4 separate regions of the Homo sapiens genome follow, and regions 1, 3 and 4 are each linked to region 2. Evidence: promoter capture Hi-C in 16 types of primary human blood cells and fetal thymus (Javierre and others, 2016). All regions are on one chromosome and are shown on one strand. Each heading gives the region's core, a stretch centred on a gene start or on the middle of the fragment in contact. The rest is flanking DNA. Distances are from core to core; before and after follow the strand shown. Region 1 has its middle 21 kb from the start of CECR3. Region 2 holds the start of BID (BH3 interacting domain death agonist). Region 3 overlaps IL17RA (interleukin 17 receptor A). Region 4 overlaps IL17RA (interleukin 17 receptor A).

The links. Contacts are between HindIII fragments. The CHiCAGO score rates a contact against its expected background, and 5 or more counts as called.
Region 1: a contact is called between a fragment that was not itself captured here and the fragment with the promoter of BID in region 2, in 1 of 17 cell types (monocytes). The highest score is 5.6, in monocytes.
Region 3: a fragment that was not itself captured here is called in contact with the fragment with the promoter of BID in region 2 in 2 of 17 cell types (neutrophils and monocytes); the score reaches 6.6 in neutrophils.
Region 4: a fragment that was not itself captured here is called in contact with the fragment with the promoter of BID in region 2 in 1 of 17 cell types (neutrophils); the score reaches 5.4 in neutrophils.

The regions. Positions count from the first base shown.
Region 1 is chr22:17,243,530-17,247,240 of GRCh38, reverse strand. No RefSeq gene overlaps it. Among named protein-coding and RNA genes, the nearest start is that of CECR3, 21 kb to the left of the region's middle. RefSeq lists enhancers at 3,413-3,672, 3,693-3,711. The HindIII fragment of the contact is 5,307 bases long and covers 1-3,711 here.
Region 2 is chr22:17,773,176-17,776,618 of GRCh38, reverse strand. It overlaps BID (BH3 interacting domain death agonist), which reads left to right and starts at 2,150. Exons shown (of 6, transcript NM_001196.4): 1 at 2,150-2,238. RefSeq lists silencers at 2,022-2,121, 2,142-2,191, 2,212-2,281, 2,312-2,641. The HindIII fragment of the contact is 11,451 bases long and covers 1-3,443 here.
Region 3 is chr22:17,091,973-17,095,237 of GRCh38, reverse strand. The region is part of intron 1 of IL17RA (interleukin 17 receptor A); the gene reads right to left. It also overlaps the pseudogene RPL31P62. Among named protein-coding and RNA genes, the nearest start is that of IL17RA, 8.6 kb to the right of the region's middle. The HindIII fragment of the contact is 2,792 bases long and covers 203-2,994 here.
Region 4 is chr22:17,114,456-17,117,870 of GRCh38, reverse strand. IL17RA (interleukin 17 receptor A) reads right to left here. Exons shown (of 13, transcript NM_014339.7): 13 at 2,178-3,415. It overlaps TMEM121B (transmembrane protein 121B), which reads left to right. Exons shown (of 1, transcript NM_031890.4): 1 at 1-1,574. Among named protein-coding and RNA genes, the nearest start is that of TMEM121B, 5.2 kb to the left of the region's middle. The HindIII fragment of the contact is 438 bases long and covers 1,143-1,580 here.

The sequences.
Region 1 (3,711 bases), core at 1,022-3,521, 530 kb after region 2:
ACTTGCTTTTGCTTTTTCTTTTTCTTTTTTTTCTTTTCTTTTTCTTTTTTTTTTTTTTTGAGACAGAGTCTAGCTCTGTCACCCAGGCCGGAGTGCAGTGGCGCCATCTCGGCTCACTATAAGCTCCGCCTCCAGGGTTCACGCCATTCTTCTTCCTTAGCCTCCCAAGTAGCTGGGACTACAGGCACCTGCCACCACTCCCGGCTAATTTTTCTGTATTTTTAGTAGAGACGGGGTTTCACCGTGTTAGCCAAGATGGTCTTGATCTCCTGACCTTGTGATCCACCCGCCTCGGCCTCCCAAAGTGGTGGGATTACAGGCGTGAGCCACGGCACCCGGCAGCACTTGCTTTTTCTAATAACAAAGTGCCGTGACTGCTCTGCCATCTGCCAAGAGCTGTGGAACCAAGGGTCTGGGCTGGAGGCTAGAAGGCCATGGTTCTGGGGACCCCACTTGCACCCTCTTACTGATTTTATGGAGTGGACCCGAGAGCACCAGCTCTGTCTAAAGGGGGCAGCTACTGGTTTTGCCTTGTATGAAGAAGAGTCCCCTTTTGCCCAATATTCTGATTTTTTTTTCTAGGAGAATTTAAAAATTTTAATACTATGTGATGTTGTCTCCTTTTTTTAAAGCTAGCAAAAAATTCAAAATAATATTTTATTTTATTTTGAGACGGGGTTTTGCTGTGTCACCCAGGCTGGAGTGCAGTGGCGTGATCTCGGCTCACTGTAATCTCAGCCTCCCGGGTTCAAGTGATTCTCCTGCCTCAGCCTCCAGAGTAGCTGGGATTACAGACATGTGCCACCACACCTGGCTAATTTTTGTATTTTTAGTAGAGATGGGGTTTCACCACGTTGGTCAGGCTGGTCTCGAACTCCCGACCTCATGTGATCCGCCTGCTTCGGCCTCCCAAAGTGCTGGGATTACAGATTTGAGCCACTCCTCCCAGCCATCAAAAGAATATTCTAAATATGGTGGACCAAGCACAACATCTGAAGGTTCTATTTTGACCTCCAGGTAGGTGTGCATGAGGGATCCTTTTGGGATACTGACAGTGTTCTATAATAAACTCTAGAAGTGATATCCCTGAAAGTATGGTCTTACTGGTAATGTTCTAAAATGTATTAAGGTAATGGCTGTGCAGTTTGGTAAATTGACTAAAATTATTGAATTGTACACTTGAAAGGGATGAATTATATATATAAAATATGCCTCAGCCAGGCGCGGTGGCTCATGCCTATAATCCCAGCACTTTGGGAGGCCGAGGCAGGCGGATCACAAGGTCAGGAGTTCGAGACCAGCCTGACCAAAATGGTGAAACCCCATCTCTACTAAAAATACAAAAATTAGCCGGGTGTGGTGGTGCGTGCCTGTAGTCCCAGCTACTCGGGAGGCTGAGGCAGGAGAATTGCTTGAACCTGGGAGGCGGAGGTTGCAGTGAGCCAAGATCGCGCCACTGCACTCCAGCCTGGGCGACAGAGCGAGACTCCATCTCAAAAAAAAAAAAAAATGCCTCAATAAAGTTGAAAAAAATTTGTCCTGCAGGCTGTAGTTTGTAGTCGAAGGCCTAGAATATTATTCCTAAGGCCTTTCTCCCTTCCTGATTGTGGTTTTGTAGAGGCACCAACCCTGCTGATAGTGAGAACTGACAACATCAGCTTATAAGTGAGGGAGTGTGGCCCAGTGGTTCATACATGGGCCATGGAGTCACCTGAGTTCAATTCTGCTTTCCTCAACGACTAGCCATGTGACCTTGAACAAGTGATGTCCCCAGACTAGTCAGCTTTTCAGGACTCAGTTTTCTCATCTCTACAATGACAATGGTTATAATATCTGGAAGATTAAATGATGCCACACATGTAAAGCATCTGGCACAATGTAAGTCCTCAAGTAGTATTTCTCATTAGGAACTCTTGCCACTAAGCCCAGTGACCCGTTTAGTACCTGAACTAAATGAGGTGGAGCTTGCAGTGAGCCGAGGTCGCGCCACTGCACTCCAGTCTGGGCGACAGAGCTAGACTCTGTCTCAAAAAAAAAAAAGATTTTAAAAAGGTGGTGAATTCAAGTTGTGTCTTCAGAAGTTCAGATTTGGGCTCATTTTTCTTGGGTAATCTAGGAGGGTCAATTTTGCACTACCGATCTCCACTCCACCCCAACAAATGTTGCTCCTAAAATGGCCGTGGGACCTCCATTACTTTCTCAGCAAAAGTGAATTCTCGGCTGGGCGAGGTAGCCACGCCTGTAATCCCAGCACTTTGGGAGGCCAAGGCGGGTGGATCATCTGAAGGTGGGAGTTCAAGAACAGCCTGACTAACATGGAGAAACCCCGTCTCTACTAAAAGTACAAAATTAGCCCAGCATGGTGATGCATACCTATAATCCCAGCTAGTCAGGAGGCTGAGGCAGGAGAATCACTTGAACCTGGGTGTCAGAGGTTGTGTTGAGCTGAGATCGTGCCATTGCACTCCAGCCTGGGCAACAAGAGCGAAACTCCATCTCAAAAAAAAAAAAAAGAAGAAGAAGTGAATTCTCACGTACTTGTTTCAGACAGGTTTTTTTTTTTGTTGAGACGGAGTCTTGCTCTGTTGCCCAGGCTGGAGTGAAGTGGCGCGATCTCGGCTCACTGCAAGCTCCGCCTCCCGGGTTCACGCCATTCTCCTGCCTCAGCCTCCCAAGTAGCTGGGACTACAGGCGCCTGCCACCACGCCCAGCTAATTTTTTGCACTTTTAGTAGAGATGGGGTTTCACCGTGTTAGCCAGGATGGTCTCGATCTCCTGACCTCGTGATCCGCCCACCTCAGCCTCCCAAAGTGCTGGGATTACAGGTGTGAGCCACCGCGCCCGGCTCAGACAGGTTTTTAAGATACTGCTAATATAGCACTTGGAATGAAGGCACTCTGGCTGTCACTAGGGCGTGGTCAGTGCCCAGGGACTCCTGCCCATAGAGGAATGAAGCCCTACCCAGAGGCACCCTCTGCACGCCTGTGAAACCCCAGCAGGGGCTGCCACATTCCCTGGGTTATGGGTGCGGCAATGTGAACCGGGAATAAAACCTGGGGCCTTTCAGAGTGGCAGAGGAGGCTGAAAAGAGGTGGAGAGAGCCCAGCTGCACTCACGGGCCAACACAGACCCCTGGTCTAAAAGGAGTCCCCCAGAACGGGTCAGGCCAGAAATCCGTTCTAGTCCTCAGTTCCCCATGTTCTCTGTCCTCTGTGTCTCTCGCCAATTGCATAGGCTCCTCTTGTCTTTCTCTCCTTCCCTCCCCTGCCTGCATCTTCTCAACAGATGCCCTGTGCCGTCAATAAGTAGCCACGGGCCCCCCAAGCAAACAGGGGCATTCTCACCAGTATCTGAGTGCTCCCAAAGGGCTGTGGGGTCCGATCAGGTGGGAATGGGGCACAGATGGGGCTCATTCGCCTGGCCTGTTGGTTGAACTTGCCCCCTGGGGTGTGGCCATAGAGTTGTGGTGGGGAACCCCTTTTTCATGTACCCTGAGTAGGGGAAGCTGTGTGGAGAAAGTGGGGGGTAGGACTCTGCTGAGCAGGGCGAGGCCCACGGTTGTCTCATGACATTAGAAACATGAAATGAAACTCAAGGTCCTGAGTCATCCCTGTGACTGAGGCTTTTGGACTGGCTTTTTTTTTTTTTTTTTTTTGAGACGGAGTTTAGCTCTTGTTGACCATGCTAGAGTGCAATGGCGTGATCTCAGCT
Region 2 (3,443 bases), core at 901-3,400:
AGGTCAAGGCTGCAGTGAGCTGTGATCACACCACTGCACTCCAGCATGGGTGACAGAGCTAGATCCTGTTTCAAAAAAAAAAATAAAGTCATCATTCTCTCATGTATGTGTATATTGTTTCATTTGTTAATTAAGGTATAATTTTACATACAGTAAAACTCACCATTCTTCGTGCAGAGTTCTCACAAAAGTGTACAATTGTGTGGCATCCACCACAATCCCTGTATAGAAGAATCCCATCATCCCCGGAATTTCCCTGGACCCTTCCATAGCCCCCCAGTCCGTCACCCCCTGAATTGTTTTCTGGCACCCCGCCCCCCTTTCTTTTTGAAGTGGTTGTTTTGCAGGAAACATCACCCTCTCTCATTTTACAAATACTGCAGACAGATTTTGAAGCCCAAAGCATCATAGAGGCAGCAGATCAGGACAGGGAGGATTGAGGCGGGGAGGCTCTACCCTGACTGTAAGAAGCACTTGAGAGACCTGCAAAAAGCCAACAGGAGAGGCAGAGACTGTGGGGGCCAATTGGTACAGGTCCTGCCCTGCATGACAGGGCCAGTGGCCCCCACAGTGCTGAGGATAAAATCCAACTGCTCATCCAGGCTGCTGGAGCCTCCTGCCTTCAGGCCACCCCACTGGCCTCTTGCCCACTGTGCCCCACTGTCCAAGCTCTCGCCTGCCCTGGGAGGGGCCCCTGCAGCTTCTTGTGCCCAGGTGCACGTCCCTCTCTTTTCCCATCTGGGCGCCTGCTGACATTGTACCATGAATTTGAACACCACCCTGCAGATGACCTGGCCTCAGTCCATGAAGTTTCCCTTTCGTCTTCTGCAGGGCACCGGCCCCTAATGCCATCTGACGGTTTCCCTGCTCACAGGATCTTCCATTTGTTAGCCCCCCAGAGTGCCCAGCCCGAGTGAAGAGCATGCAGGAAACAAGCCCCTGTCCTCGTGGAGGCTACATTCCGAGAGGGGAGGTAGGCAACACACACACAAACGACTCCGTGGTATGTCATGCTGCGATGCTGGCTGTGGAGGAAAATGAAGTGAGGCCTGGTGAAAGCCAGAGGCCATGGGGCTGCCGAGGAGGAACAGGGACAGGGTAGGATTTGCTTAGAGCAGGGCAGGTCGCGTGGGACTCTGCGGGCCACTGAAAGGAACTTGGCTTTTATTCAGAGGATGTTAAAGCGTGAGTGACATCCTCTGACCTTTTATAAAAGAGGCAAGAGTCTAGGGAGCCCGGGTAGAAGTGAGGGCGTCTGGAGGAGCCACAGTGGGCTCAGGGAGTGAGCCCACGCGAGGGCGCAGAGCAACTGGACGCTCCAACAGGGCTGGTGGAAGTGCCGAACGGTGTGCATCACCTTGGAAAGCAGGCAGTTTTTAATACCATGAAGCTCGTCCAGCCCTATGATTCGCATTTCCACTCCTAGGTATCACACTCAAGAGAAGTGAAGACGCCCACAAAGGGCTCTGCAGCAGCACTGCCGGTGAGAGCTGCATCCGGGGATGCATGGACTGGCCTGTCATTCCAGCACCTTGGGAGGCCGAGGTGGGAAGCATCGCTGGAGCCCAGGAGTTCGAGACCAGCCTGAGACCTCCAGAGGTGGAGACCCCCCCCCCACCACCTCCACTAAAAACTGAAAAAGAAATTAGTTGGGTGTGGTGTGCGCCTGTAGTCCCAGCATTATCTATATGTTAAACTGATGTTTTAAATCAGAGTTGATATCCAAATAATTAAAGAATAAACAACAAGCACAGGGACTGGTGAGGGGCTGGGCCAGATTCTCTGCAACCCACATGGCTTCACCCACTTTCCAAACCCCTGGTTCCGTGAGGACCTAGAATGACCACCCCAGACTGTTCCAGAAACAGCCTGGGGATTCTGAATGTTTCCCAGAGAATCATTAGGAATTATCCCAGCGGCGCTGGAGTAAGTGGCCAACTTAAAGTTGGACGACACTGTCTGAAACAGTCGCGTAAGGGGTAAGGGTGGAAAGCCTGGTTCTCACTGCGCTGCCGGCTCCCCGCCCCGCTCCACAGCCCCGCGCCGGCGCGGGCTCCCCGGGTCCCCGCAAGCCGCCGGGGGCGGGCCGGGGCGGGCCGGGGCGGGCCCGGGCGTGGGGGGCCGAAGGAGGAAGCGCGCGGGGCGCCATAAGGAGGAAGCGGGTAGTCGACCGTGTCCGCGCGCCTGGGAGACGCTGCCTCGGCCCGGACGCGCCCGCGCCCCCGCGGCTGGAGGGTGGTGAGTGCACCCGCGCCCCTCCCGGGGTACGCGCCGAGCCCCAGCCCGTGACCCCTGCCTGCCGCCTGCCCCGGCGTGGAGCTCAGGGCCCGCCGCCCGCCCTGGGCCCGACCGCGGTGGGAGCCAGAGGAGGGGAGGCGGGGGGTCAGAGCCCCAGGCCTCAGCAGCGACCTGAGGGCCGGGTCTCTCCCGCCTCCCCTCCGCCCGGGCGCCCTCCTCGGCGCGGCCGGCAGGTCGGTGCTGAGGGTCGGGTCCGCCTCGGAGGCGGGGAAGGCTTTGTTGTGTCCTCTCCACGTGGCCTGGGGATTCAGGGGAGGGGTGCGGGGCGCGGGGAGGGGGAGGGGCCGAGGCCAGCCCCGGAGAGGAGAAAACCCGCGGGCCTGGCCGGGTGCAGGCCACCCTTGCCGGCGGATCGGAATCCCCGCCCACACCGTGGTCTTTCCAGCACCGCAGACACCTGCCGGCTCCTCCCGAGCGGAGCTCAGGGCTGACAAAGCGCGGTCAGAGCGGCCGCTTACTGGGGCTCGCCCGCTCCTTAGAGCACTGGCAATGATGTGCGGATCCTCGCTGCTGCTGCTGGGAAACTGTTGAGTGGCTGAATGACCCCAGGGGACCCTGGGAGAGCTCTGAAGCCCTCAGCCACCAAGTGGCTGGGCTGGCAAGGGTTCATTCATTCATTCAACAAATACGAATGTGCAGCGGTGCTGGGGTCATGATGGCTCGGTGGGCAGCGAGGGGCCGGGCCGGCTGGAGGAGCACAGTGCGGATTCTGTAAGTGGGCTGGGGGCTGGGCCTTCTGCGGCTGGACCGGCCTTCACCTGCAGGCAGGGTTGGGGCAGGTGAGGAGCAGATGGACCCACCCAGAGCTCTTCCACCTTCTCAGGCTTGCACCCCCTTCCTGGAGCCTTATCCACACCCTCAGTCCTCGCTCTCACTGTGGGGGAGCTGCAGAGGATGCGGTTTTTCCACATTCCATCTCCACCCACAGGAGGCTTTGAGATGGGGGGAGCTCTCCTGGGCCTGAATGTGTGCCGTCCTGGGGCCCTGCAGTCCCCTGGGAGTGATGACCGAGACCAGATTCCCTGAGCTGGGGTCTTAAGGGTGTGGGGAGCGCAGAGGGATCCTCTGGCATCAGGAGTTGAGGTAGACAGAGCTCCAGGGAGGCACTGCCGGGAGGACGACCCTGGCCAAGCCTCTGCCTGCGG
Region 3 (3,265 bases), core at 349-2,848, 680 kb after region 2:
CTCATCATATACCTCTCCAGCACTGATTAACAAACAAAGTTTGTTAATGCACCACTAGATTATGGTGCATTGTTCTTTTGATATTCTGCTAGATTACATTTGCTAATATTTTATTTAGAATTGCATGGATTTATGTTCATAAATGAGATTGGTCCATAGTTTTTCTTTTTGTATAAGATTTGTCAAGTTTTAGAATTAAGCTTATACTAGCTTTAAAAAAAATGGACAGCTTTCCCTCTTTTTCTGTGGTACTGAATGGTCATCAATAGAGAATGGCTGAATTAAGGTGAGATCTAGTTTAAATCTAAATGTCCATCAAACTAGAAATGGTTGAATAGATTGCTATCTACTATGGAATATTATGCAAATATTAAAGAGAATGAGAATTAGTTGCATAGACATCTGTTGACCTGCAGATGGCTGGAATGTGTTGATGAGAGAGGAAAATAAGTTTCAAATAACTTTTTATAGTATGATCCCAATTTCTATGGAAATAAGTCATGAAAAAGATCTCCCTGAATATATATATATATATATATATATATAGAGAGAGAGAGAGAGAGAGAGAGAGAGAGAGAGAGTGTGTGTATGACTAAATGAGAATAGAAACATGTTAACAGGTGTTAACACAGTTTGCTGGGGGCAAAGGGCACACAAGCAGAGGAGATGGCATGAGGGAAGATAAGGGGAAAAAAGATTTAATCAAAACTGAAAAATATACATATAGGTGAAATATAGAATAACAATTCTATTAGAGGTAATAGCGCATTGACCATATACACATATTTTCTCCCTCTCTCCAAACAATATAACAATTATAGGAAAGAACATTTTTTTTTGTAAATTCTCAAACTCAAAGAGCCAAACTCAGTGGACAAAAGATGTGAACAAAATTTTAAAAGTCCTTTCCAACTTGGCCCCAGCAGCATAGCTCCTGTAAAGAAGAGTGTTGGCTGGGCGCAGTGGCTCATGCGTGTAATCCCAGCACTTTTGGGAGGCTGAGGTAGGTGGATCACCTGAAGTCAGGAGTTTAAGACCAGCCTGGCCAAGAGATGGTGAAACCCTGTCTCTACTAAAAATACAAAAATTAGCTGGGTGTGGTGGCATGTGCCTGTAGTCCCAGCTATTTGAGAGGCTGAGGTGGGAGAATTGCTTGAACCTGGGAGGCAGAGGCTTCAGTGAGCCAAGACTGTGCCACTGTACTCTATCCTGGGCGACAGAGCGAGACTCTGTCTAAATAAAATAAAATAAAATAAAATAAAGTAAGATAAAATAAAATAAAAGGGCTATTCTGTCACCTGCCACCAATGAGGTGGTGACACCAGAATATGCCATCAGCATCCACAAGCACACCCATGGAGGGGACGTCAAGCAGTGTGCCCCTTGGTCACTCAAAAAGTCCCAGAACTTTGCCATGAAGGAGATGGGGACTCCAGATATGCTAACACCAGGCTCAACAAAGCTGTCTGGACCAAAGGAATAAGGAACGTTCCATACTGTGTCCATGTGCAGCTGTCCAGAAAGCATGAGGATGAAGATTCACCAAGCAAGCTCTATACTTTGGTTACCTGTGTACCCATTACCACTTTCAGAAACTGACAGTCAGACATTGTGGATGAGAACAAACTGTTGATGTCAAATAAAATTATAAAACCTCAAAAATGAACAAATGAATGAATAAATAAATAACTGTCCAAGTGGCAGCAGAGTAGGCAGCTGGCTTGTGCTGAGTGGAGGAACTTCTGTCTGAATGCTACAAAAGGGAGTTATTGATAAGGAGGCCAGGGGCCCCTCAGAACCTTATAACGTTCAGGGCTTAGGGGCAGGGAGAATTAAGTGAAGGTCTACATATGGAGTGTTGGGAACCTTATCCTCTCTTTCCGTGCTCTGATCTCAGAATGCTGGCAGCCAGGCCCAAAAAAAACACCTCCAGATTTCAGCATTTGGAGGTCACCCAATAGGCCAGGTTCACGATTAGCTTGACCTCCTATACAGTGAAGTCCAATGTTCAATAAACCTTAACTACACAGAGCATTTAATCAGCTTTTAGGACTTCATTCTTAAAATATTCTCAGACAGCCAAGGAGTACCAGATATTTGAGATAGGTTTTCTGTATGAAAAATAGATCAAAACAATTAAAAAATGCTCCTGGAAGGAAAAAAAAAACAATGCTGTTAACACAATTAAACCAAACAAGTAAAATTATTATAGCCCCGAAGAGATACAACACTGCATCTGTAAGACAGGGGCAGGACACCATGGACAAATGAGCAGGCAGAGAATGAAAACTGAACCTTGAAACTCAATAGAAGTTCTACTAAATAAAAATTCAATAGAAGGGTTAGTCTATGAAATTGAGGACATTTCTCTGAAAGCACAAATAGAATAGGAAAAAATATATGATCATTAGAGATTCAATTTAGGAAACAAAATATGATTGACTAGATTTCTAGAAGGAGATTAACAAAAAAACAGAAGGAAGAAGTTATTTTTTAAAAAAGGAAAGAAAGAAAATATTCTGGAAGAGAAGGACACATATTCCCCGAGAGTGTGGAAAAACTCAAGCTGTATTTTTCCTCTGCCCTCACATCACCACAACAATCAACAGAAGTCACAGAAGACTTCTGTGACTACATATTGGCGGGGGGTGGTTTCTTCCCACCACCAAGCAAGCAATCAATTCGGCAGCAGACACCAGCTGGGTATCCTCCAATTTAATTCTGACACTATTTGGAGATAGCATCAGATCCCACAGGTTGAGTGCTCAGTCCCCAAGACCGCCCACCCCCTAGACACCAGTGGTAAGTCTGGGCCTCCAGAACTTCTAAGACCAACCGGGTTCAACGTGAGATTCTCATGCTCCTCTCTTTCAGTTCAATTAATTTGCTAAAGCTGCTCAGAGAACTCAGGGAAACACATTTCCCAGTTTATTTTAAGGATATCACAAATAATACAGAAGAAAAGGTGAGGTATAGGAGAAGGAGTACAAAGCTTCCATGCCCTCCTCAGGTGTGCCACCCTCCAGGAACCTCCACATGTTCCACTACCTGGAAGCTCTCTGAACCCCGTTTTTATGGAGGCTTCATGTGAGCATGACTGATTAAACCACTGGCCATTGCAACTTCAGGGGGCCTTCAGTTCCCTCTCCCCTTCCCAGATGTGATGGGTAAAGGGGTGGGGCTAAACGTCCCAGCCCTCTAATCCTAACTTGCTTCCCGGGACCAGCCCCCATCCTGAAGCTGCCTAGAGGCTGCCAGCCACCAA
Region 4 (3,415 bases), core at 112-2,611, 660 kb after region 2:
TCATTGGCTTTGAGTGACATATTTTTATTTCCTGGGCCTGTTTTCTCACATTAAAAAAGTAGAAGTTAGATGAGTGATCTCTAAGGTTGAAGGTAATTTCAGCTCTCACATTCTTTTGAGTTTGTGGCTCTTGAAAGCCCTGGTCCTGATGCTCCCTGTAAAGGTGGCTGGGAGAGAAGCCAGCCAGGCTGCACTTGCAGAACATTCCCTGCTCTGTACTGGGTGTGTGAAGCCCCAGCAGAGAAGGCCGGAGGGAGGGCTTGGGTGCCTGGGCTGGGTGTGGGGCAGGGCCTGGCACAGCTGCAGAGTGCACAGGGAGGGTCAGAAGTGCCAAGTCACTGGCCGTTAACTCAGCACCCAGGCCAAGCCCCCGCCTCCCACTTGAAGCCCCCTCTTACAACTGTTTTGGGGGCTTGGAGCAGAAGACACCCTTGTAGACAGACATAAGAGGGGCAGAAGGCTTGACCAGAGTTCTCTTGAGCCTCCTCATGCTCTCAGAGCAGGGAACAGCGGGGGAAAATGTTTACACTCCATGCACAATCTGTGCTTCCAGTCCCTCACCCTATGTGGCCCAATAGCTGGCTGGATTTCACACTTAATTGGTATTTTTTTCTGCCTTCTTCCCCTGCCCCCACTGACTCCTCTCCTCTCCCTTTGATTGTACTCAAGGTTCTGGGGCCTGGGCCCTGGGTGGGTACCAACAGCTGCTCGCTGTTCCCATGTCCTCTCTCCAGCTTTGCTGTGTTTCTCTGCTACCTAATCTCAGTGACTGTGAAAGGACATTGTGTCTGAGCCATGGCCAGCCGCTGGCTGGCCCCCTGATCTGCCCCCCTTCTATTGTTTGGATGGCCATCTCCTGCTGGGCCTCCCTGACTGTAAAATCTCTGTACTGTTTGTTAGGTTTTTGGTGGGAGGCTGTGATAAGTTCCAATGAGCTGCCACTTCCCTGGATATGTCAAGAAGCTGATGGCAACTTGGCCAATTCTGGCAGATATCAGGCCCCCAGTTCAGCCCCAGTCACCCTCTTTTACACATGTGGGTCAACCACTGTGTGCTCAGAGGGTCAGTCCCTTCCTCTGCTGTGTTTTTCTTGAGTCCTTGCACTCACTTCCCCTGCCCCAGTCACGATGACCCCTAAAGCTTCCTTTGCCCTTGCTTTCTAGGGCATCCCTAGTGAAGGGGCAAACCTGAGATTTCTCCGTGGACCTGACAGCCAAGGCAGGGCACTGTCTCCTGAGGCCAGTGCCAGCACGTGCATGGTTCACAGAAAAGGATCCTGGGCTCAGAATCTCGAGAACCGCCTGCTCCTAACAATTCAGCAAGTCAGGGGCTTCCTCTCTGTTAGTCCCCAAATCCTTACTTATTTTAAAAAGACTAGACCCTCTCTAAAGACTGTTCCATTTTAACATGTCCTGATTCTGCATCCGTGGGTTTTGTGAAAGAGAGCTAGCTGGCGGTTAGAGCCTGGAAGAAGGAGGGAAGTGGCACCTCACTAGCATTTATCACTTTTTTCCTTCTCTTTTTAAAAATAAAACCAGACTCTGTTCTGAAAATAAAAAACTTGAGACTTGTGACAAGCTTCCTGTGTGGTTTGTTTTAAGATCTTTTCTGTCCTGGTTTCCTTACAAAATTCTTAAATGTCACTGTGACATTCGCCATTATTTTATAAGTTTGTGTTAACATTATGGGTACACCTTGGCCCTTCTAGGCAGTTGGCATGTTTTTCAGGGAGGCAGTGAAGCTGTGGCCTGGAGCTGGTGAGTGTCTTGACATGCTTTGTTGGCACAGCCAGCTCAGCTCTAATGGACTCAGCCTGAGAACGATTTTTTCTCATCACCCTCGGCTCTCTCTCACTTTTCTTTCCTTCCTTCTTTCTTTTTCTTTGTTTTTGAGACAGGGTCTCACTCTGTCACCTGGGCTGGAGTGCAGTGGCGCCATCATAGTTCACTGCAGCCTCAACCTCCTGGGCTCAAACAATCCTCCTGCCTCAGCCTCCCAAGTAGCTGGGACTACAGAAGTGTGCCACCACGCCCGGCTTCCCATTTCTTTCTAAAAGAGTAGCTTTCCAAAGGGGGAACATCTTGAGAAACTAATTTTTAAATACTGTGCCCTCCTCTATCACTCTTGCCCCAGCCAGAAGCACAAATTCTTACGTATGAATAAGAAGAACAAGGCCATGGGTTTTTGTTTGGTTTTATTTTAACATGAAGGGTAGTATTAAGTCTAAGCAAGAACACTGGGCCTGCACCAAAATAAACAAACACACAGTGATTTTTTTTTTTTCTTAGCACAGAGGCAGCCAGTATTACACAGCCCCTCTCTGTGTTGTGACCCTAGCTTGCTGCTTCTGGCTGTGCCAAATGCTAAGCAGGCGTTTCACTCAGGGCAGCCCGGGAGGCAAGGTCTGAGAGTGGAAGCTCCTGGGAGCCTGAGCTCTCTCTGCCTCTCGTTAGCTGTGGCTTTGGCCATCAACTGGAACTATGTCATTATTTATAAAACAGGAGCAATCACAGGGCTGTGGTGAGAATCACATGAGGTGACACATGTGAAATGGTCCTTTCCCCTAAGACATATATAATTGTAACAAGGAACAAAATTTACATAGAAAATAATTACAGAACAACGTAGGACCATGTCTTCATTTCTCCCTGGAGCGGATGTAAAATAAGGTGATTGATTTGAGCAAGCATGTTATGAATATTTAGAAATGTCTTCTAGGGAAGCAAGCTGGCGCTCACCGATTTTGGTTTGCCAGGCATATCAGAAGGCACTTTGTGACAGGTGCAGTAGGGACGCGGAGTGATCTCTTCACGTGTAGGCAATGCCCAGCCCACACCTAGGCCTTGCCTGAGTCTGGCCATGCAGTTCTTGCCCTAAGGAAGAACAGGAAAATATAGCGCGTGGTTGACTGTCAGGCCCTCTGCCCCTTCCCTCGTCACAGCCACCTTCAGGGCTGCTTTCTCTCCATTTTCCTGAGGCCGAGAAAGAGGAGGTAGCTGGCACAATGCCACATTGCAGTCAGGAAGAAAAGCCAGTGTGCACCAAGGCCCTTCTTCCTCCCACATCTGCACTGCTCCAGGCAACCTTCGGTAGTCGGCTGTTGCTTGGGTCCAGCTTCCTTTCCATGAAAGCTCAGCCATTCTAGCAAAAAAGCAGGGGCTGTTTTCATCTTCTGAGAGAATCCCATGACACTGGTGAGCAGAGGCGGCCAGTGGGACACCCGTGCAGGGAAGCAGGCAAATGCAGGGACCAGCCACCCGCATCCCTCCTTTCTACTCCCTCTCCTCCTCCTACCTGGTCACTGTGTACCTTCTTCCTGTCTCATCAGAGAGGAAGGATCCAGTGAGCGAACTCATCTTATAGTCAATGACCTAAGGGGTTATTCCTCCTGGGAAGGACTCCAGGGGGAGGTGGG